Regions from separate parts of the Homo sapiens genome. Here all the other regions are linked to region 5. Evidence: promoter capture Hi-C in 16 types of primary human blood cells and fetal thymus (Javierre and others, 2016). All regions are on one chromosome and are shown on one strand. Each heading gives the region's core, a stretch centred on a gene start or on the middle of the fragment in contact. The rest is flanking DNA. Distances are from core to core; before and after follow the strand shown. Region 1 holds the start of GUCY2F (guanylate cyclase 2F, retinal). Region 2 has its middle 100 kb from the start of ACSL4. Region 3 has its middle 130 kb from the start of ACSL4. Region 4 overlaps GUCY2F (guanylate cyclase 2F, retinal). Region 5 holds the start of KCNE5 (potassium voltage-gated channel subfamily E regulatory subunit 5).

Region 1 (4,361 bases), core at 178-2,677, 140 kb after region 5:
ATTTACAAAATGGAAAGAATGGGTAATATCCACCTTCATGGTTGTTGTGAACATAAAGATGTACATATAAGTATAATGTACATATAAAATGCCTGTCATACTTAAATAAAAAACTGATAGATAGTAACAAGTGTTGGTAAGAATGTAGGCAAAAAAGAACCCTCATATGTTGCTGGTGGGAATGCCAAATGGTGCATATACTTTGGAAAACAGTTTGCCAATTCAAAAAATGTTAAACATAGAGTTATTATATGACCCAGCAATTCCCTGGGTATATGCCAAAGAGAAATAAAAACAATATGTCCATATAAAAACTTTTACACAAAAGTAATAAAAGCAGTATTCATAATAGCCCAAGGTGGAAACAACCTAAATTTCCATCAACTGATCATGTGGTATACCCAAAAAAGTGGAATATTATTTGGCCACAAAAGAAATGAAGTACTGGTACAGGCTAGAACGTGCATGAACCTTGAAAACGGTTTGTTTTTCAAACAAAGTGTGTTTGGTTTTTTGTTCTTGCGATAGTTTACTGAGAATGATGATTTCCAATTTCATCCATGTCCTTCTTTCATTCAAACAAAGAAGCCACTCGCAAAAGATCACATGTTGTATGATTCCATTTATATGAAATGTTCAGAATAGGAAAATCCATAGAGAAAGTAAATTAGTGGTGGCCTGGGGCTAGGAGGAGGAGAGAAATGGGGAGTGACTTTTAAACAAGAATGGAATTTCTTTGTGGGAATAATGAAAATGTTGCACAAGCTTGTGAATATACTTTAAAAAAACCCTAAATTATATACTTTTGTGGTAGATAAATTATATCTCAATAAAACTATTATTAAAAAACATTTCTCATTTAATATAAGTCATTTTTAGCCCTTAACACCTCAGTTCTCACGTTGGGAATCCAGAACAGGGCCCTGAGTGAATGATGCCCAGGACAGAGAGGGACTTCTTAAGGAAAAGGAATACATCTAAAGTATGGGGAAACAATGTCTCTGTACAAAGGTGTAGAGGGAAGTAGGGAGTCTCTCTTGGGAGGAAAGGCAGTGAAGGCACTTAAGGGGAATAGGAGAAGGAGACAAAATTCACCTGCTTTGAATTTTGCAGGGAGCCAGCCTGGATCACCTTTTATATTCTGGGCTGGAATCACAGCTGATGAATGTTTTGGCATTTAGAACTGTCCTGGAGAAAGGGCGATTGGTGGTTATTAGACAGAATGGAACAAGGAAGAACACAGAGGCAAAATCTGAGAGTTTGTGTCTGACTTTGAAAGGTAAAAGAAGGCAGTAGTCTGTGGAGGACGTATTTATCCAGAGGACTCTATTTGTTTGTTAATCTCTGGGTCATTGCATTTAGGTCAGCACTAACTCTGCTACAGGTGGGATCAATTTAAAGGATTAGAAGTGTCACTCTAAATCCTAATCCAAGTCTTGGTCTGCGGATGCTGAAGAGTGATTTTCAAAACATTTACTAACGCTTTCAATTATTTACCCCATTAATGGAATTTGTCAACAGACTGGAGTCCTTGACAGGATTGTGAATGCATAGAGGATGCAAAGAAATGGACACACTGAGGTAGCTATGCCAGTGGTCTGCATGCGCAGGCAGTAAACTGAAGACATTTGAGCGGTGAATTACTTGGTGAGTAGTTGACAGCTCTTGTTTATAAGAAAGATTGTAATGGGGGGAAAAAAGACACAGCCCACCTGGGAGCTGAGACGCTGATTGAGATACATTAGTTTTACTGCAATATGTAGTAAAAAAAAAAATTTAAAGAATGAAGGAAAGAAGGAAAGAAGGGTTAAAGAGAGCCTTCGAGATACTTTAAGTCAAGATTTGAGCTCAAAGGCTCTCATCCAAGCTTTCGTTTAGTTTCTCTCATGATTCTTTTTTTATTGCTTCCTGATGTTGTCTTATACAAGCTGTTAACTTGATTCAGGCTGTAATTAGAAAGACAAATCAATCTTTCATAGAAGTCCTCGGCTTGACAAGCTGGTATGAGGAGCCATTTCCCTCAGAGCTATTTGTCATAGTCTTTCTTTGTACATGTTTAACGAACGGTGGTTTTCTGTGTGAAGCCAGGCTTCCCATCAGATTGTAAAAACTACCTGAAATGAAATTATGCATCCCTATGCTCTAGCCGCTTTCCATGGAAGTCTGATCCCATGCAGGTGTTCACACCTGAGTAACCTAGGCAATGGCCCCAGAACAACTGTGGGCCAGTAGTATTCTATTTCCAAAATTTCATACCTTCAAACTTTGTTTTAGTTATATCCACATTTCCCATTAACCCCAGGAAAGACTTTAGTGAGCTAATTTTTTTCCTTAAACCAAAATCAGCAGGTGGAGGTTTAGGGCATCCTCCCCCTATCTTGCCCCTTTCTTTCCCTCCCTCCCTCCCTTCCTTCCTTCCTTCCTTCCTTCCTTCCTTCCTTCCTTCCTTCCTTCCTTCCTTCCTTCCTTCTTCTCTCCCTTCATTCCTCCCTCCCCTTCTTTCCTTCCTTCTTTCTCTTCTTCCCTCCTTCCCTCTCCCTTCCTCCCCCTTCCTCTTTTCCTTCCTTCTCTCTTCCTCCCTTCCTTCCTTCCTTCCCTTCTTTTTTTCTTTTTTCTTTTTTAAAGAATAAGTTTCCTTCTGTAAAATCTTGAGTTGGGGGATCAAGACTAAATCCTACAGCAACATAAAACTTTCTGGTTGTCCAGGGAGTCCTAACAGAGTTAGAAATATCACCAAATGCATCACATCGGTACCAGAAAAAATGTAAGGGCAGACCTTCAGCTTGGGAAATGTTTATCTTGCAGTTAACAAAGGGAAAAGAGCAACAAAAACTGAGAGTGAATGCCAAGGGACACTTTGTGGCATGTGGCCTGAGGAGGGACCCGTGTTGTATGAATTTTAGAAATGGTATAAAAAATCTAACTTTTTAGAATTTGGGGTGGGCATTGTGCTTAGGAGTTACCTGGATTATAACACAAAAATGCCAGCCTTACACCTAGAATGGACAGTTAATCACTTTGATCTGAGGGGCACCAAAAGTTTCTTCATTTTTTTGCTCAAAAAGTAGTCCATCCTCCTTTGCCTACCTGCAACTGATGCTTGAAATAGACATTATATTATTAGAGATTAATTATTTTGGCATAAACTTCTCCCCAGCCCTTAAGAGAGAACAAACACCACTGGTTGGGGAGGAATACAGGAAAGTGTCAAATATTATCATTCATTTACATATTAGTGCAAATCATTTAAAGAGTTTCTTTCTTTAGAGTTGTTTTCTCTCCATTAACGAGAGGGCAGAGAGAGCTGTGCTAGAAGTCTGAAGACAAACTTTACCCCTTGATAATTTTGCCAAAGGTGGGTCTTGATTAAGGCCTAAAATAGAGCATTTTAAATAACATGGTAATACAAAACATTTTATTTGTGCTCCATATCTCCTCTTCAGTATTAATTCAACATATATTTTTTGCGCACCTACTATGTGTCAGGCACTGCGAAGGGCACTGGAGATTTAATGTTAAGCAAAAGCAAGCAGGGAACTTACTAACTTGGTTTTCTCCCTCCTGAGGTACATGCTTGCTTTTCTTGTTTAGATTTCTTGGCCAGGCCCTTATACTCTCCCATTTTTTTTTTGTAGTTAGTCTTAGCACAGACCAACTTCTCAACGTGTGTTTGTTATTAATGATAATAAGATAACCAGTGATTTTAGGAGCCCAGGTTTTCAGTGTAGCATAACTCCAGCATTGTCGGGGAGTGGGGTCTTCACATCACAGAAGCTTGACAGAGGATTCCAGGCCAAAATTAAAAATGATCAGGAACTGGATCTACCAGATAGAAGCAAGTACTTTGGGGGAATCCAACTCCAGTGAGAAGCTAATTAGAGCAGCAAAGGCTAGAAAATGTTGAATGAACTCAGCAGTTTCAAAGTGCAGAGGTTTAGAAAAGTAACTGCCTAGACAAAGTACAGAATCCCAGGATGGATGGAGGTCAGAGAATAAAGGGACTTGCTGATCTGCTAGTCCAGCTAAAGGGGAAAAAGGAGAGACCTAGAGTAGGCAACAATCTGTTCAGGTCACATGGTGAGTTGGTGCAGAATTGGGTCCAGGACCCTGGCCTTCTGATTCCCAGTGCAGTCCTCTTTCCAAATAGGGAGGAAGAACCAGTGTTTATTGAAAGACAACTGTGCACTTAGTATTCTAATTTATTTACTTCTTTATCTCAAAATGATTAAATTAAATTTACCCCCACTTTGCAGATGAGGAAGTTGAAAATTGGGGCTAATATGCTGAAGGGTGTACCCTCAAGATTTCCATTCTCAAAGATTAGGATTAGCTTTACATAGAATACAGTGGAACTGGTGCTC
Region 2 (4,417 bases), core at 1,359-3,858, 210 kb before region 5:
ATTTTCAAAGGATCCTACAATATGTTAGCCCATGTATTGGCACACTTTTTCTGTAAAAGGCCAAATAGTAAATATTTTAGGCTTTGCAGGCCATACTGTCTTTGTTGCAACTATTTAACTCAGCTGTTGCAGTCTGACATCAGCAATAGACAATTCATAAACAAATTGGAGTAGCTCTGTTCCAATAAAGAAATAAACCGAATATCATGTTTTCATGTCACAAAATATTATTCATCTCTTGTTTTTTTTTCAACCATGTAAAAATGTAAAAAAATTCTTAGCTTGGACATACAAACAAAACAAAACAAAACAACACAAAAAAACAGGAGGCGGTCTAGATTTGGTCCGTGGGCTGTAGTTTCCCAACTGATGCCTTATGAAAGGATTGATTCAAATGAGAGTTTCACATAGTGCTGTAAGTTGAATGGGATGTGGAGAGAGAGCTTTTTAGAATGGGATTAGGGACAACCTCGCCATCCTCTTCAAATCACACCAACTAGGTACACTGTTGCATGCTTGCTATTTCATTCAATACATATTTCTAAGGAACTATATATGCCAAGCACTGTGCTAGGTACTATGTAATGCAATTATCATTAATAGAATAAAATAGATGTTGTCTATGCCCCTATAGAGTTTAAAGTACAATGGGGGAGACAGATAATCAACAAGAAAATAGCCAATAAACATATCTTTTCAAGTTATGATAGATGTATGAAGAAAACACAGGAGAGAAGTTGCATAGGATGACAGGGGAGCATACTTAAAAATTGCAGTCAGGGAAGGAAGTTTTGCATATGGAGAGGTTTTTGCTAAAAAATTAGTCTGGTGAAGAGAAGCAAGGAGTAGGGGAAATAAAGTAAATTCCAGGCAGCATGCAGAAAAATCAGCATGTGTAAGGAGCCTGAGACAGGAAAGAGCTTACCTTGCTCACAGACCTGAAAGTAGACATATAACTAGTAGTATTGGAGGAAAGTGGCTACAGAGGAGATGGAAGAAGTAGACAAAGTCCAGGTTATTTACAGCTTTGTAGTCCATAGAAAGGAGCATGGGCTTCATTTAAAATGCAAGGGAAACTCTTTTAAAAGCTTAATCTGGCTAATGTGTGCAGAATAGACTGCAGGGAAGGGGAGAGCATAAACTGGGTAATCAGTTAAGCATTCATTACAGTAGTATAGGCAAGAAGTGATGGTGGCTTACAGTAGGGTATTGGCAATGAAAATTTAAAAAGAGTGGACATGTATGAGATTTTTGGCAGAGGAGCTAGAAACTATGGAACTTGCTGATTAGATGTTGGAGATGAGAGAGATAGCAGAATCCAAAACAATTTGCTGTTTCTGGCTTCAATAGCCTGGTAGATGGTTGTTCCTTTTGATGAGATAGGAAAGACTGGGAAAGGAAATTATATTTGGGGAATGGGAGGTAGGGAAGATGGTACGAATAAAGAGTTCTATTTTGGGGCAGGTTAAGTCTAAGATGCCTTTGAGATATCCAAGTAGATGTCTAGCTAGTTGGTTATGTGAGCCTACCATATAAAGGAGAGTTTGGAGTTGGGGATATAAATATGGATGAAGTCAACATATAGATGATATTTAATCCCATGGGAGTAGAGGAGATCACTCAGTGAGAGTGCAGATAGGGAAGAGAGGAAGCCCTAGAAACTAGTGCTGGGCCACTCAAAAATTTAGATATTGGATACAGGAGGAGTCCATTGGATAGAGAAGCATCTTCAAAATGGACTGAAGAGGAGTAGTCAAAGATACTGGAGAATTAAGAAAAATATGTATTGTCACAGAAGCTGAGAGAAGAGACTGTTGGAGGAGAGAGTAGTCAACTGTGTTGAATACTGGTGGAATATCAATTTAGATGAGGACAAAAGGAACACTATTGGTTTTGGTAACATGGAGGTCTTAAGTGACCTTGGCAAGAAGTTTGGGTGGGGTGGTAGCAATGGCTGAGGTGAACAGAGATGTAAGACCTGATAGGATTAGCCTTGTAAGGTCAGTTCCAGAGCTGTGATCCAGAATGCATACTTGGTGGTTTGGCAGTTTCCAAGGCAGCTACTCCCTCGGGCAGCATTAAGTGGTATGGCCCTGATGGCGTAGCATGGCTTTCTATTCTTTCACGGTGTTTTTTTTTTTTTTTTTTTTTTGAGACAGAGTCTCGCTCTGTCACCGAGGCTGGAGTGTAGTGGAACGATCTTGGCTCACTGCAACCTCCGCCTCCCAGGTTCAAGCGATTCTTGTGCCTCAGCCTCCCGAGTGGCGGGTATTACAGGCGTGAGCCACTATGCCCGGCTAATTTTTGTATTTTTAGTAGAGACTGGGTTTCACATTGGCCAGGTTGGTCTCGAACTCCCAACCTCAAATGATCTGCCCACCTTGGCCTCCCAAAGTGCTGGGATTACAGGCGTGAGCCACCACGCCTGGACTCATGGTGGGTTTTAAAAGGAAATAAATGCTCATGCATTTATTTGTTCAGTAAATATTAATTGAGCCATTAATAAGTGCCAGGTACTCTAGATGCTGGAGGTGAAGTAGGGAACAAACCCCTAAAACTTCCTGCCCTGGTGGAGCCTATATTCAACTGACTAGTAAAGCCAAATAAACAGGCAAATATAGTCAATCTCATTAAGTACTATGACATAGGAAGATACATTAGTCAAGGTAGTTCATTCTGACTTCTGTAACAAACAACCCTCACATCTCACTAGTTCAACACAATAGAAGTTTATCATTCATGTCACATGCCAATGCAGGTCAAGCAGCTCTCCTGGGATGCTCTCTTCCAAGCAGTGACTCAGGAACAAGGCCATTTTTGTCTCATGGCTCCACCATCATAGACCTCCTCAGAGTCCTCAAATGGAGCCTCTGTATTCTGTAGGTCAACAAGGAAAGATAGCTCACAGAGTATCATGCAGCATGATTTATGGCCAGACTTGAAATTGAAAGTGACCAGAAGCCAATCTAATGGCAAGGGATGCTGGGAAATATAATCTTCCTCTTTGTCCAGGAAAGAAATGGGATCGGTGAGAAACTAGTCTCCACAAGTGAAGTGTAGGTCAGAAGAAGAGCTTTTTTCTTTTCTTTCTTTCCTTCTTTCCATCTTTCTTTTTCTTTTTCTTTTTCTTTTCCTTTTTTTTTTTTTAACGGAATCTTGCTCTGTCACCAGGCTGGAGTGCAGTGGTGTGATCTTGGCTCACTGCAACCTCCTACTCCCGGGTTCAAGCGATTCTCCTTCCTCAGCCTCCCAAGTAGCTGGGACTACAGGGGTGCGCCACCACACCCAGCTAATTTTTGTATTTTTAGTAGAGACGGGGTTTCACTATGTTGGTCAGGATGGTCTTGATCTCTTGACTTCGTGATCCGCCCATCTCAGCCTCCCAAAGTGCTGAGATTAGAGGGGTGAGCCACTGCACCCGGCCAGTAGAGCTTTTAATATTTATTTAAAGTATCAGGAAAAGGTTCCTAGATGAAGTGACATCTAAGTCACCTGAAAGATGATGAAGAATTAGCCTAGTGAAGTGAGGTTAAGAATATTTCAACCCGAGGGAACAGCAGGTGCTAATGACAGAAGGTAAGAGAGAACATGGTTTATTTGAAGGACTGAATGAAGTCTGGCAAGGCCAAAGCATACAGCATGAGCTCAGAAATGGCAAGAGATGAGAATGAAAAGGAAGGGTCAATGCAAAGGTGAGTGCAGGCCTTTGGAGTGATGATTTCAAATAGAAGAGTCAAGCGATCCTACAGGGTAGCTGGTCCCTGATGAAGGCTCTGGGTAGAGGTACTAGGGCAGAGGTCTCAAACATAAAGGCCTTCAGGGGCTAAGCGGAAAAGCTGAGCACTGAAAACAGAAGAGAGCAATGGTGCCTACAGTAGGTGGAGTGTGTATTCCATGCCTAAATATATTAAATTCAAAAACAAAAACCAACCAAAAATCCACTGCACAGAACAAACTGCATCTGCTATGGATACCGTTCCTGGTCTTAAGTTTGTGGGGCCTGGTAGAAGGTTTCAAGAGAGTCTTTATAGTCACCAAGGAGTTCAGGTCAAAAATAGGAGATGGGGATACACCAGACATGTCAGGAACAAGTCTATAGTTGTCAATGTGCTGATTTGCAAAAGCTTTCATATTTCTTCCTGCTATTTTCAGTTAACTGGCTGGTAAGATTGCACATTTTTGGACAGTAATGGGATTGTATTATTTCATTCCAATAATAATAACAACAACTAAAAGGCCAGGCACTTCTTTAAGGGCTTTATTAACCCACTAAGTCCTCAAAACAACCCATGTGGTAGTTAACAATGATTATATCCATTTTTAGATGAGAAAGTTGAAAGAGTAACCTCACAGCAACTTGCCTAAGCTCACACAGTTAGAAAGTGACAAAGTAGAGATTTGAACCAAAAGCAAACTG
Region 3 (4,594 bases), core at 507-3,006, 240 kb before region 5:
GGGAGGGTTCTCTCAGCTAGGGAGCACAGCACCAGCTTTGGGGCTCTCACCAGCAGAGAAGGCCCTTGGGCCAGGTCAGAGCCAAGGTAGGATCCCCAAGCCCAGTGGAGTGATTCCTACTCCAGCTATACATAAGGAAACTCAGGAGAGGGACACCAGAGTCAGGGTCTGTCCCTGAGAGAGAGAAGTTACTTGCCCACTGACACTGTTGAGTACATTTCTCCTCCTTGCCCTTTATGTCTCCTATGCAATGGCCAGCCATAGCCCCTATGTTGCTTTCAAAGCTAATTATGAGTGTCAGTTTGACACCAGAACAAAGAGTTAACAAGACAGTTAGTTTCTGATTATACTAGAGCCAGCGGCCACTCTATCTGTATGGCCTGGGGTCTCAGGAATGCCAGTGTCTCAGGCAACAGGTCTGGTGATGGATACCCTTGCAACTGCCTAGGAGAGCTTAAAGGATTACTCTGGAGCCTTTCATCCTGTCCCCATAACTAGTCCAGGAGCCAGAATTTATAAGAACAGTTCTTATCTGGAGGATCTTCAGAGCTTACAGCCAGGGCTGGCAGCCAGCTGAGATCAACTCGACACCCAACCTGGGAAGCCCTGAAGCTAAAATAAAAGAAACAGTTCCAGTTGTGGCCATTGTTAGGCTAAGTGGTGAACAAACTAGCCAAAGGAAACAAGTGGTATCATCTTACAAATAAAAGAATTTATGCTTATGGTCCCAGCCTCTGGAGTCAAATAGACTTGGGTTTGAGTTCAAGCTCTGCCACTTTCTAGCTTTGTAACTCATGGCAAGCCACACAACCTCTCTGAGCCTTAGTTTCTTCATGAATAAAATGGAGACTACTGATGTACTTCCTTCACAAGGTTAATGTATTAAATGAGTCCTTGCATGCTAAGCCTTTAACACAGAACTTGACTGTAACAAGACTCCTGAAATAAGGCATAGTGTTGTTATCACGAATCTCGTTAGCCTGCTCACTGGGATATAGTGGAAAAAGAAAAGGTCGGGGGCCAACTACTAAACAGGTCAAACTGCTTGACAGTCATGCCTCATCGTGCCACCGTGGAGATTTCCAGATACTGTTAGTGATGGAGTCCTTGTTTTCTCTTATAGTCCATGTGACCTGAGTTGCAGGTGCCTCCAGAAGTGTAGAATATGTAGAATACTCATTTATGTGCTTTATTCCTACCCTGATATCACTGAATGTTGTCACTTGTAGTCCAAGGGCCTTTCCCCCAAACCCAGGCTCCTGTTTTCTCTCTTAGCCCATGTGACCTGAGGTGTGGGTGGCTGCCTCTAGGACTGATAAGATATAAGATAGTATAAGCATTATTTTCCAAGTTTAAGGACAGAATAGGTGGGTGGCACAAGCCAAGAATGATTCAGTGACATTTCCTGACCAGGCCTGGCTTGTCATTAAGGAATTTCTTCAGAAGTAACTAGGCAGCCTTAAAAATACAGATTCCTTGGCTTATCCTCAAAGATTCTGCTGCAACAAGTCTGGAGTAGAATTCAGGATTGAATAAACTCCCAAGAGGAATCTGATGCACAGCCATGCTTGAGAACAGTTAAATTGTATAAATGCCTCTCTGAAAAAAAATAAGTCTCACACTTCAATGAGCATTGGATTTGCTTGGTGGGGTGGGATTTGTTAAGATACAGATTTCTGGACTCATCCACTAGATCTTCTGATCTTGTAGTTCCAGGGTAGGCTTCAGACATCTGAATTTTTAACCAGTGCCTTCAGGTAACTCAGGTCTAGGGGAAATAATTGCTTCCTTTGTGATCATTCCTGGCTAGTACAACCCAAAGATTTTCCAGAGATTTTCTCATTCTTGCCATAATAAAAAATAAATGGTAAACAAAAGTATTTTATTTTAGATCATTATATTATTGAAGATTGCATTAGCTATCTATTACTTCAAAGCAAATTACCCCAAAATCAGTAGCTTAAGACAACATTTATTATCTCATGGTATCTGTGGGTCAGCAACTTGAGCATGGTGTAGTTGGATGTCTCTGGCTTAGGGTCTCTCAGAAGGCTGCAATCAAGGTGCAGTGCATGGTCTGTGGTCTCATCTGAAGGCTCAGCTTGGGGAAGGATCTGCTTCCAAACTCACTTCTGTGGTAGCTAGAAGGATTCAGTCCTCTCTGGCTGTTGGCCAGAGACATCAGTTCCTTACCATGTGGACCTCTCCATAGGGCAGCTCACAGCTCATAAAATGGCAGTTGACTTCCTTCAGAATGAGCAAAGGAGAGAGAAAAAGAAAGCAAGGGAGAAATCATAACTTAGTCTCAAAAGTGTAGTCCCATTACTTTTGCCATATTCTCTTAGGAGCAAGTAACTAGATTCAGCCCACATGCATGGGGTTGGGATTACACAAGGGCCTAAATACCAGGAGGTGGGAATCACTGGGGCAATCTCAGAGGCTTCCTACCACAATGCTAACATTTTAAAAATACATTTTAATGCAATTTTTAATATTATTTAAAATATAGGAAAAATTGATTTATCTTATTTGAGTGATGCAAACTGTTTAAAGTATGCAAAATGAACATAATTTTTGACAACTATAAACATAATATTACAGTATGTTTTATTTGGAGACTGAATGTATATTAAAATGTCAAAAGCAGTTACGTATTATGGCATCAAAACTAGACAAAAACTGCTTTCATGTCATGCTGTTTGAAATTGTTGCATTTTGTATTGTAAAGATAAGTTCACATATTTACATAATTTTAGTATTTTGTTTCTAAATGAAGACATTAGAAGAAAATACTATTTCTCCAGACTTTCTTCACCAATAACATAGCAAATGTGTTTATTCTTTTTTCCCCAAGAAATGTAGAGCCAAATTAGATATAATTGTTACTATACCTTTAGTTTTGCCATTGATGTTTAAAGTGTGAGAGATAGCTTAATGTACTATATAATTTTTAAAATCAGATTGTTATCACTTAGGAATCTGATAAACAGCAGTTTCAGACAATATATTGGTTTACTAGGGCTTCCATAACAAAGTACCACAGACTGAGTGGCTTAAACAACAGACATTTATTTTCTCACAATTCTGGAGACTAGGTGCCAAGATCAAGGAGTTGGCAGGATTGGTTTCTTCTGTGGCCTCTTTCCTTGGCTTGGAGATAGTTGTCTTCTCCCTGTGTCTTCATGGTCTCCTCTCTGTGTGTGTCTGTGTTCAAATTTCCTCCTCTTATAAGGACAGCAGTCATAGTGGATTAGGGCCTGCCCTAATGACCTCATTTTAACTTAATTACCTCTTAAAAGACCTTATCTCTAAACACAGACACATTCGGAAGTACTTGAAGTTAGGACTTCAACATATGCATTTGTTGTGGGGTAGGGAACACAATTCAGCTCATACAAAAACGAATTTTCAGAATCACTATCATTCTTATCATCCTTATTCACTTGCATTTCAACAGCAGTCCTGTGTTTCTTGTCTTTAGCCAACAATCCACTGTGGGCATAAATGAAAGAATACATGACTATAAATTTAAAAAATGCGTAACTGTATGATTATCAAATCGCCAGGCTAGCCTGCAATAACTAAGTGATAAAACAAGCCGAATAATAGGAGTTTGAACATGGTAGTCCAAGATCCACTAATTGCCAGATGGTCAACTCTTGAGCACCATGAACCTCACTCTGAAATAGGAGAGGAAGATTAGCAGTAAAGCAGAATAAGGCACCGGAGCCAGCGAGTGCATAGCTCCTCAAGAAACCCAAAAGCCTCCCAATTTAAATTGCTACAAAAGTCTCCACCTACTTCCACCTTCTTCTACAATTAAACTTGTTTTGCTCCAAGCATTAGCATTAGAGAAAAAAATAATTATTCAATTTATTTCTGCTTCATTTAATTATTGGTTTTGCTACAACCATTTTCTGCTATTTTCTTTGGCCAAGATTCAGTATTTCATCAACATTAAAGGTTAGAGAAACTCTTCCAGGTTGGACTTGGAACCTAGTCAACATTTACACTATTGATCCTTGGGGAAATGGAATCTGAGTTCAAAAAACTGACTTACAAACACATTTTTAGAACTGACTCTATTTGTAAGCTTGGAACTACTTATGTCCTGTATGAGAATTCTCAATTTAAAAAAGAATAGGAAGACAGTAAAACACATTTAACACTAAAATTCTACTAAGCGTGGCTGATTCTTTCTTCAAGGGCTCCAAAAGCCCTTGAGGGTCTTGCTCTGTAATGAGCAGAAATTAAAGTGGTGCAGAAGTCATAGGAAACTGGGCTAATCTCAGCACTTTCCTCGAAGTGGGTAACCCCTCTGCCTGAAATGGGCCGAACTTGGTCCCAGAATTTCACAACCATTTCAGTAATTGCACTTTTCCCTAACCAAGAGAGAGACAATCAAGTTCATGTCAACGCTCACTTGAGTTCATTGAGAGCACTTTTCTGGCTTCGGGAGAAGATACAAAAAATTCAGTCAAGACATAGTTTCTGCTCAATATGACAACTTTTATAAGTAGGGTTAGATTTTACAAGCAAGGTTTATACCTTTGTGTCTTCTAGCTTTTATTCAGTTGTATTTTGGGAGACCTAG
Region 4 (4,218 bases), core at 902-3,401, 160 kb after region 5:
TTTGAGTGCAGGAAGCTTACTGAATGAGTATTTTCAAGGAGAACACCTGTGAGGAAGAGAAGACAGTAGGATTGGGCAGAGAGAACTGAACTGCAGTGCAGCCACAACAAAGGCCTCAGCCAGTCTTAGAGGGGAGCTCTAGAGCTGGTATGACCCTTCAGAGTTGTCCAGAATTGAGATAAGGAGTCTGGGCTGTTCTACCTCCATGTGGAATTGTCATTAGGTTCAGTCTCACCCACAGAAAGGGGCACAGTGTGTAATAATAATTGTTTAACAGTCAGATCTTCAGATGGAAAAAAGTTTTGATTTGTAGTGTTTGCTGATTTCCATAGTGTAATCACTCCCACAGTGGTCAATTTCAAGCTAATAACATGATGTTAACTGGCTCACAAAATCTCTGAAAGTTGAACCAGCAAAAGCGAACCCCAGCACACTACTGAGAGGATGTAACCTTGAGAGAGGTGCCTTTCCTTAGCTGAGGCCAACTCTCAGAGAAAAGTCACCTATCAGCTACTAACACACCCAGCAGCTGGTGGAATGAGTGCTTCAGTGCTGAAGTGTGTATCTTGATGGCACATCACCATAGCACCTACTACGTGTAATGTATGTTAAAGTATTTGCTGTATTGCAATCAGCACCAAACACTAGTTCTATTTAACATTTTCCATGCAGTAAAGTCATTTTAATATTCCTTTAAGTAAATTAAATCAAATTGTATCACTGTTGAGTAACCTTGAACAAATCACTCAATCTCTGATTTGCAGAAGAAAGATGCTAATACTGATCTACTTGCTGAGGATACTGTTGGACAAACTGGCCAACCGAAGCCTCTGACTAAACTCATTTTCCCCGCCTCAATGGACCTATGACTATACTAATTTGACCAAACTAATTTACTTTTAATGGTTCAGCCAAATGTAGAGAGTGAGAGGTCTTCAGTTCTACTTTCTTTTTCTAAATCCAACTCTTGCATTGTCAAACATCTCTGGCACTCCATTTTCCCATGATACAATGTGTGATTATAAACAAGTGAGGCTGAATTCCTTGTGGGGCTCATGAACTAGCTCCAAAGATATCCTTCGAGAATTCTAAGGAAGGTCTGAACATCAGAATACATGTAGAACCTCTTAGCGTAATTATTTTGAAGGAGTTAATGGTCATTTGAAAACTCATGTCATGTTGTGGTGTGTGCATATGTGTGTGGTATGTTTAAATAAACTTCATAACTTATTAGTTACACTTTAAAAACTAAAAGGTACCAGCTCTAGCTCAAAGGGAAACTTTCTAGGGGTGCTTAGCAAGTGTAAAAAGGTGTTTGAAAATAGATGAAACAATATGCAAATGCCAAAGACAAGTCATTGAATGTAGTTAAGCACCCTTAGTTCTTGAGATTAAAGGTTCCATATAAACATGTATAATTAATATTTACCAGTAGCAATAGAGTCTTTGCCTTTCTTCAAGGAGCTCAGAATGCTTGCCAGGCATTATCTAATTAAACTACTCAGTGTACCTGTAAAATGCATTGGAATCTACATTTTAAAGATGTGGGCACTGAAGCACAAGTGGGCTTAAACTAAACTTATTTAGCATGCCAAGGGTAAAATTGGATATAAGACTTTCAGTCTCATGATCTAGCTGCCATTTTTCAACCGTGGCCCCCTTGAATCCACTCTATTCTAGCATAACCTTGCCAAACAACATAGTTTCATAAGTCTAGGAAGAATTAAATTGAGTCCATAGTAATTTCAATTACAGGGAAGTTAGATTTTAAAAAGTTGGACATCTCACCCATAATATTACACAGAGTACGTCCTTAATCTGAGAATCTGAAATCCGAAATGCTCCAAAATTGAAAACTTTTGAGCACCAACATGACTCTCAAAGGAAATACTCATTAAAGTATTTCAGATTTCAGATTTTTGGATTAGGGATGCTCAACAGGTAAGTATAATGCAAATATTATACTTAATATCCCAAATCTAAAAAAAGTCTGAAGTCTGAAGCACCTCTGGTCTTCAATAGTTTGTATAAGGAGTACTCAACCTGTAGTAACATTTATAGGTGAGTGAGTTAGTGCTTTTCATTGTCTATAATGACCTTGGTAAGGATGAGAACAATTGGTCAAAATGTATTAGAGTGCATGTTTGTAGGAGATGGACAATAAAAAGCAATAGTGGCTGTGGTAACATCTCCCATCCTCTCTTACTATTCTCTCTTCTAATTCTTAGGTATATAGTAGCTACTATTTATTGTGTGCTATGTACTAAGTAAATGACTTGTCTCCTTTCTTCAATCATCACTACCATCCCATAAGTATATATTGTTATCTCCATTTTATGGACGAGACAGAGAGCGGTTAAGTAATTTAAAAAAGGGTACACAGTTAAAACTGGTGGTGTTACGATGTAAAGCTGATTTTTCCAACCCTAAAGCCTCTTTTGTTATGCTACTCCCCATTGATTATACTAGTTCTTGTTCCTGTCTGAGTATTAGGCTCTGCAGCCTGTAGGCATCTCTCTCTTGTCACTATCCCCAATCCAGAGTCCATGAGCATACCTCAGCCTCAGCTCAGGACAACATCTTGCTTATCTTGGAGGCATAAGAAACCACTTACAAATTGGTTAGAACACATTTATTTTTCCTCTCTGTAGTTTTTGGTACTGTGCTTTACTAACAGTTTGCTTCCATAACCTCCTTGCTTTGTTGGTTTCAGTAATCATCATGTGTATGCATTCAGCTTTGATTGGGGGAGAGACTCAGATGCATCTCTTGGAATGTGCTCATGATCTGAAAATGACTGATGGAACCTACGTCTTTGTTCCTTATGATGCCCTGCTCTACAGTTTACCTTATAAGCACACCCCCTACCGGGTCCTAAGGAACAACCCAAAGCTCCGGGAAGCCTATGATGCAGTGTTGACCATTACAGTGGAGTCCCAAGAAAAGACCTTCTATCAAGCCTTCACAGAGGCAGCAGCAAGAGGTGAAATTCCTGAGAAGCTGGAGTTCGATCAAGTAAGTACACATTCATAGGTTGTCATGAGCTGAGAACCTAAAACATCAGCATGGTAAATTATTTTCAGACCAACAGTCTCAATTCCATAGGAGGCCCAGTCAATGGCAGGCAACCACAGACAAATTAAAAACATCTTTAGTTTGCTGAAAACATTTGTGAAACAAAGGCATATTATTTGAGATTTTGTTCTTTTATCTTTAAGCAGCCCACGATGACATTATATAGTCAGGAAGAATAAATGTATTTAAGAACAGATAAACAAAACTTTAATATATACTGGTGCTGTTCAAGGGAGCCTAATAAAAATAAGTCCTGTTTGTGGTGTAAGTTCTGAATTAATTTAACAATAAGGCAAAAGAGCTAGTATATAAGAAACTATTTCCTTTATTTTTGATAACACTGGTATTGGAGGATGCGGCTTCTACCTGTAGGCATTTGAGCTTCCCAATACTGAACCCAAGGATTAAACAAACTTCTCCATCTGGCCAATGGCATTGCTGGACCACTGCAGTCCTGCCCCATGAGGGCAGGTCTTTTTTAAAATGTGTAGTCTGGAGAGGAACAGCAGAGCATTTGCTTCTTTTAGGTAGTCTGCTCCCAAGAGAAAGAAGACAGGAGGGGCTGAGCTACACATACTTACTTCTCCTTCCAAACTAACCAGTCAGATTAATTCATTTTTCCTTTGTGGGGAGGAATGAGTAAGTGGGTGAAGACAGGCCACTTGGAATGGGGAAGAAGTCCTCCCTTCTGATATACAAGAAATAGTATTTATATGTGTGTAGATAAATGTATGTATAGGCATATTTCAGATTCCAATCATAGCCACTGAAGGCTTAGAGAAAGAAAAAGGAGTGAGGAGGGGAAGAAAGTAGAGAAAACAATGGAGAGCAAAGACAAAAACAAAGAGGATGAATACAAAGAAGACGAGGAATATGAGAGGAAGATGGGGAGACAAAAGAAGCCATTTAGATTGGAAAAAATACAGAGGGACGTTTCTGTACACTGGAGGTCAGATGTAGAAAGCAGACATTTTCAAAAGTACTTAGAACAACATACACATAAGTTTAAAAGCTCTGGCATTTGCTAGAATACTGCATTAGTCATATTGCTTCCAGCTGTAAGAAATAGCTCAATACAAAATGGTTTAAGTAATAATTCTTTTTCAAAATTTGAAGATAGGGCTTCAGGGTTGGTTAATTCAG
Region 5 (4,612 bases), core at 190-2,689:
GGCCTGTTTAGAGGCTGTGAAGCAAGGCTCTGTTTGAGACCCTGGATACAGTTTGGTGCCAACCTCACCTGAACACACAGAAGGCTACAGCCCCTGGGTGGATGGTGGGCTGAAGAACGGTTGGGGAAGAGGCATCGGAAAACCTTCCTTTTTTAACCCATGGCACCTATAGATTGAATGGTCCCTGGACTGAACGGTCTTGAACAGGCAGCATTATTTTCAAGGTGTGCCTAAGGTCATACACTTTTCTTGCTTTCTGCTCTCATTTGGCAACTATGGACAACCAGACCTAGCCAGCACTACCTCATTTTTTCTACCCCACCATCTACAAACCAACCCTTTTCCTTTGTGAAGCTCAGTCTGTTTCCAATTTAACATATCTGGCCTGATCTTTGTCTTGGTGCCTTGTTTTCCCCTAAAAAAAGACAGCCTTTGAGAAAAAAATGGCTGCCCTAAAAGCCATTAGGGCCTAGACCTGTTACCAAGTCTAGAGAGGCACACAGCTGTTTGCTGGCCTAACTGGGAGTAGGGTGAGCATATTCTCTAGAACTGGCACTTTTCAGATCCCGAGATATCCACAGAGTGTAGTCAAAGGGCCTTTTAAAATGTGCATGCTACTCTTATTGGAAGAACTTGGTTTCACTTCTGGGAAGATGGCTTACTTACCCATGGGAAACAGGCTCCCATTATGAATAGTACATTCATGTGCTAAGATGTGTTGACTTTTCAAAAAGTGTCATAGGACATCAGAGCAGGGGTGCTTCCAAGAAGGTGTAATATCACTTATATCACCAGAAACCATTTTGGATAACCAGGGAGTTCTACTCTGCCTTGGCCTTCTAGCAGGTGCCTGAGCACTCAGTCACCAAATTCAGCCTGAGCATCTTCTGAATAAGATGCTCTCCTCCGACAAGGTGGGAGGGGGGTGAAAAGGGGGGCGGGGGGAAAAGGAAAGGAATGAGGACTAGAAAGATAGGCCTGGGTCCCTGTATATGGGAGTAACTTCCATAAAATGTGGACAAGGGGTCTCTGCTGCGGAAAGGCGTCTGCCCTCTCCCTTGAGCGCCCCAAGGCAGAGCTGCCTTAGGGGGCCAAATGCTGTATCTGGGCCAAAGCCTGGCCTGCAGGGCAGGTGGCCAGAACTTGGAAGGAATTCTCTTCCGCAGCCCAGGGTCCAGGCTTGGCCCCAGCAAGCTGCCCTGCCAGCGTCTGCTGCCTGGGGCCTCGCGCATTCCGAGCCCCCGCCCCCTCCGCCCGTCTCCCAGCCTCGCCCCCACTCTTGTCCCCTTCTCCTCCCCCCACCAGCTGTCCCCTTTCCCTGGAGCAGCGAGACAGCCAGAGCCTGGGAAGAGGCGGCCGCGGGCCGGAGGGGGCGTGGTGGGGAAGGGGAGGAGGGGCGGGAGTGAGGGAATAAGGAGGCCCCGCCGTCGGCGCCCCCAGCCACTGCGCGCTCGCCGGAGAGCTGGGTGCTACCGCTGTTTCCGCTGCTGAGCCCTGCCCGCCGGCCGGCCCGCTCGCTAGCTCGCTTCCCCTCGCCCAGGGGGAAAGGTCAGCAGCGTCCTGGAGCCGCCGTGTCACTCCCCGAAAGCCATGAACTGCAGCGAGAGCCAGCGGCTGCGAACCCTTCTGAGCCGCCTGTTGCTCGAGCTGCACCACCGGGGTAATGCCAGCGGCTTGGGCGCTGGCCCTCGTCCCAGCATGGGCATGGGGGTCGTGCCTGACCCTTTCGTGGGCCGCGAGGTGACCAGCGCCAAGGGCGACGACGCCTATCTCTACATCCTGCTCATCATGATCTTCTACGCCTGCTTGGCCGGAGGCCTCATCCTGGCCTACACCCGCTCCCGTAAGCTCGTCGAGGCCAAGGACGAGCCGTCCCAGGCTTGCGCCGAGCACGAATGGGCCCCGGGAGGCGCCCTGACCGCCGACGCCGAGGCTGCCGCGGGCTCCCAGGCCGAGGGCCGCCGCCAGCTTGCCTCCGAGGGGCTGCCTGCCCTCGCCCAGGGCGCTGAGCGGGTCTAAAACCACAGCCCCAGATTGCTGGTTCGCGCCCTCCTCATCTCGCTCATCCCTGGGCGCGCCTCCCACCTTCCACCCCCAACTCCCTTCCAGGGTTCGCCTCATCTGAGGCCCAGATAATGGTGAGAGGCCAGGAGACCTTGTCTGGAAGGCCCTGGAAGGAGAAGCACCACCTTACCCATTCGGGCCAGTTTCTCCCTCTTCACCCCTGCGCCTCCACCCCTACCCCGCACATCCAACTGCACTAAACTGCCTCTGCTCTCTTGTCTTCAGACAGCCCTGACAGCACGCTCCAGCCCTCTGGGAACTGAATCCAACACGTCCAACACTTGGCACTGAACTGAAGCAATGCATTCTATCAGAACTCTGGGCCGTCTAACTGGCAGCTGCTCCAGGGGCTGCCAGGGACTGCTCACTCTGCAGAGCCAACGGGCTTGCCAGGCCGACTGCAGCAGCTCCAGCTTCCAGTTGCCTTAGGGACAGAGACAAAGGAAATGAAGAGACCTCAGACATCTTTTCCCTCCCTCTCTCTTTCAGCAGGGAGCTAGCAGGACACTAGGACCAGTCTGTGGGATAGAATGAACTTAATGGGGGACGGAAGGGGGAGGAGTGCTCAACGGGGAGGGAAATGATCTATGACTCCAACCGTATGATTTTCTTGCCTCCCCAGTTTTCATCCCAGTGGTAACGCCTGATTTTTGGTAGCTATGCCATCTTCTGCTGAGGATTACCATTACTGGGTGTATCACCCCAGTACTTCCAAATGCCTCTCCTCTATTGATTCAGTTGTTATTGCAGTGTCTGCTTCATCCGTGGAACTTGAGGCTCAGATGCCCCCTGCTCTGTAACCCTGGGGAATGTCAGAGGCAGGTAATAAAGGTTGTTTAAACAATAACGCAAGACTCTTCTCTCAGAGATTCCAGCCTTAAGACCCAGTACCATATGGAGAAGGAATCCTTTTTCTTTTGCTTTTGGAAATGATGTTTGGATTTGGGGGTTGGGTGGTTGTGATATTTATATCTATGTAACCAGTTCCAATTTGATATGTGTGATTATGGGTGAAGAAAATGTTTATATGGCTAAATGGGTTGTTTTTTCAAGTGTTTCAAAAGTTATACCTACTTTATTACTTATCCCTCCTTTTTTCTTATTTCTGAAGCACTTTCAAAGATCACAATGCAGTCTTTCAGGATGCACTTTAAAAAACCTTTAAGGCCCATCCCTTTTAGCTATTATCAAACCTAATTTTTAGAAGCCACCTTAATAATTGTTTTTATTTTACTTTTTTTGAGACAGAGTCTCACTGTGTCACCCAGGCTGGAGTACAGTGGCACAATCAAGGCTTACTGAAGCCTCTGCCTCCTGGGTTCAAGCGATTCTCCTGCCTCAGCCTCCCAAGTAGCCTCCTGAGTAGCTGGGATTACAGATGTGCCCCATCATGCCCAGTTAATTTTTGTATTTTTAGTAGAGACGGGGGGTTTCACCATGTTGGCCAGGAGGTTCTCAAACTCCTGACCTCAAGTGATCCGCCTGTCTCGGCCTCCCAAAGTGCTGGGATTACAGGTGTGAGCCACTGCACCTAGCCAATAACTTTTTTGAAGTGGCTTATTAAAAGACAAGGAAGCCACCAAATAGTGTAAATCTGAAGTCAAAGAGAAAATTCTTGAACTGAGCAATCTTAACCAATGATGGGTAAAGTTAGAGGTGTGTGTTGTATTGATTTATTCTCCTTGTCTCAAGAAGGTTGTCAGAAACTTCCCTGCTTACAGCTGAAATGCTTATATCTGATGATGGCTGTTTGGGCTTCATCAACCACACATAAAATCACCTCTTAGAAGTAAGCCAATTTGCTTAAATATAGCTGGGTTCTCTGATAATGATAGCAGGACAAATATATTACCAGTCACTTAAATGCATTGATAACACACAAACCTCATTCAAGGCATTGGGTCTTACCTTCCAGCCCATCTAGCATTTTATTGGAACTGTTAATAAGTTAAGTGAACTTACTTTTATTTCCAGGATTCACTCATTGAAGCTATACTGGCCTTGCCCCATTGGCTCTTCTCCAGTCCTCGTTCCAGCCATAAGGTCACCCCTGAAGGTGAGGGCCAGGGATTGGGCAGCAGTCCAAGACGATGACAGAAAGAGAAGGGAAGCTGTGTGAGCCATTTCAGCCAGGCAGGGAGGCCTGGGGAGGATGTGGAGGAAGGGCACAATATACAGCAATGCTGAGGACATGTGACGGGGCGGTCTTCAGTCCTGTATTCTAAGTAAAACAATGTCACTCATTTATCTGGCATAATGGGGACTCAAGGTTATTATTATTAATTTTTTAAATTGAGACGGAGTCTTGCTCTGTCACCCAGGCTGGAGTGCAGTGTCGTGATCTTGGCTCACTGCAACCTCTGCCTCCCAGGTTCAAGCGATCCTCTTGCCTCAGCCTCCCGAGTAGCAGGGCTAAAGCCTGCGCCACCACGCTGGCTAATTTTTTTTTTTTTTTTTTTTTAGTAGAGACGGGGATTCATCATGTTGGCCAGGCTGGTCTCAAACTCCTGACCTCAAGTGATCTGCGCACCTTGGCCTCCCAAAATGT

The links. Contacts are between HindIII fragments. The CHiCAGO score rates a contact against its expected background, and 5 or more counts as called.
Region 1: a contact is called between the fragment with the promoter of GUCY2F here and the fragment with the promoter of KCNE5 in region 5, in 15 of 17 cell types (naive B cells, M2 macrophages, M1 macrophages and 12 more). The highest score is 15.7, in naive B cells.
Region 2: a fragment that was not itself captured here is called in contact with the fragment with the promoter of KCNE5 in region 5 in 1 of 17 cell types (activated CD4 T cells); the score reaches 7.4 in activated CD4 T cells.
Region 3: a fragment that was not itself captured here is called in contact with the fragment with the promoter of KCNE5 in region 5 in 2 of 17 cell types (neutrophils and activated CD4 T cells); the score reaches 6.9 in neutrophils.
Region 4: a contact is called between a fragment that was not itself captured here and the fragment with the promoter of KCNE5 in region 5, in 2 of 17 cell types (neutrophils and naive B cells). The highest score is 6.3, in neutrophils.

Annotation. Positions count from the first base shown.
Region 1 is chrX:109,479,152-109,483,512 of GRCh38, reverse strand. It overlaps GUCY2F (guanylate cyclase 2F, retinal), which reads left to right and starts at 1,427. Exons shown (of 20, transcript NM_001522.3): 1 at 1,427-1,647. The HindIII fragment of the contact is 1,102 bases long and covers 768-1,869 here.
Region 2 is chrX:109,835,357-109,839,773 of GRCh38, reverse strand. No RefSeq gene overlaps it. Among named protein-coding and RNA genes, the nearest start is that of ACSL4, 100 kb to the right of the region's middle. The HindIII fragment of the contact is 3,036 bases long and covers 1,091-4,126 here.
Region 3 is chrX:109,858,570-109,863,163 of GRCh38, reverse strand. No RefSeq gene overlaps it. Among named protein-coding and RNA genes, the nearest start is that of ACSL4, 130 kb to the right of the region's middle. The HindIII fragment of the contact is 4,679 bases long and covers 1-4,095 here.
Region 4 is chrX:109,463,939-109,468,156 of GRCh38, reverse strand. It overlaps GUCY2F (guanylate cyclase 2F, retinal), which reads left to right. Exons shown (of 20, transcript NM_001522.3): 3 at 2,714-3,015. Among named protein-coding and RNA genes, the nearest start is that of GUCY2F, 16 kb to the left of the region's middle. The HindIII fragment of the contact is 4,267 bases long and covers 18-4,218 here.
Region 5 is chrX:109,621,999-109,626,610 of GRCh38, reverse strand. KCNE5 (potassium voltage-gated channel subfamily E regulatory subunit 5) reads left to right here and starts at 1,439. Exons shown (of 1, transcript NM_012282.4): 1 at 1,439-2,911. The coding sequence starts at 1,591. The coding sequence ends at 2,019. The HindIII fragment of the contact is 6,764 bases long and covers 1-4,612 here.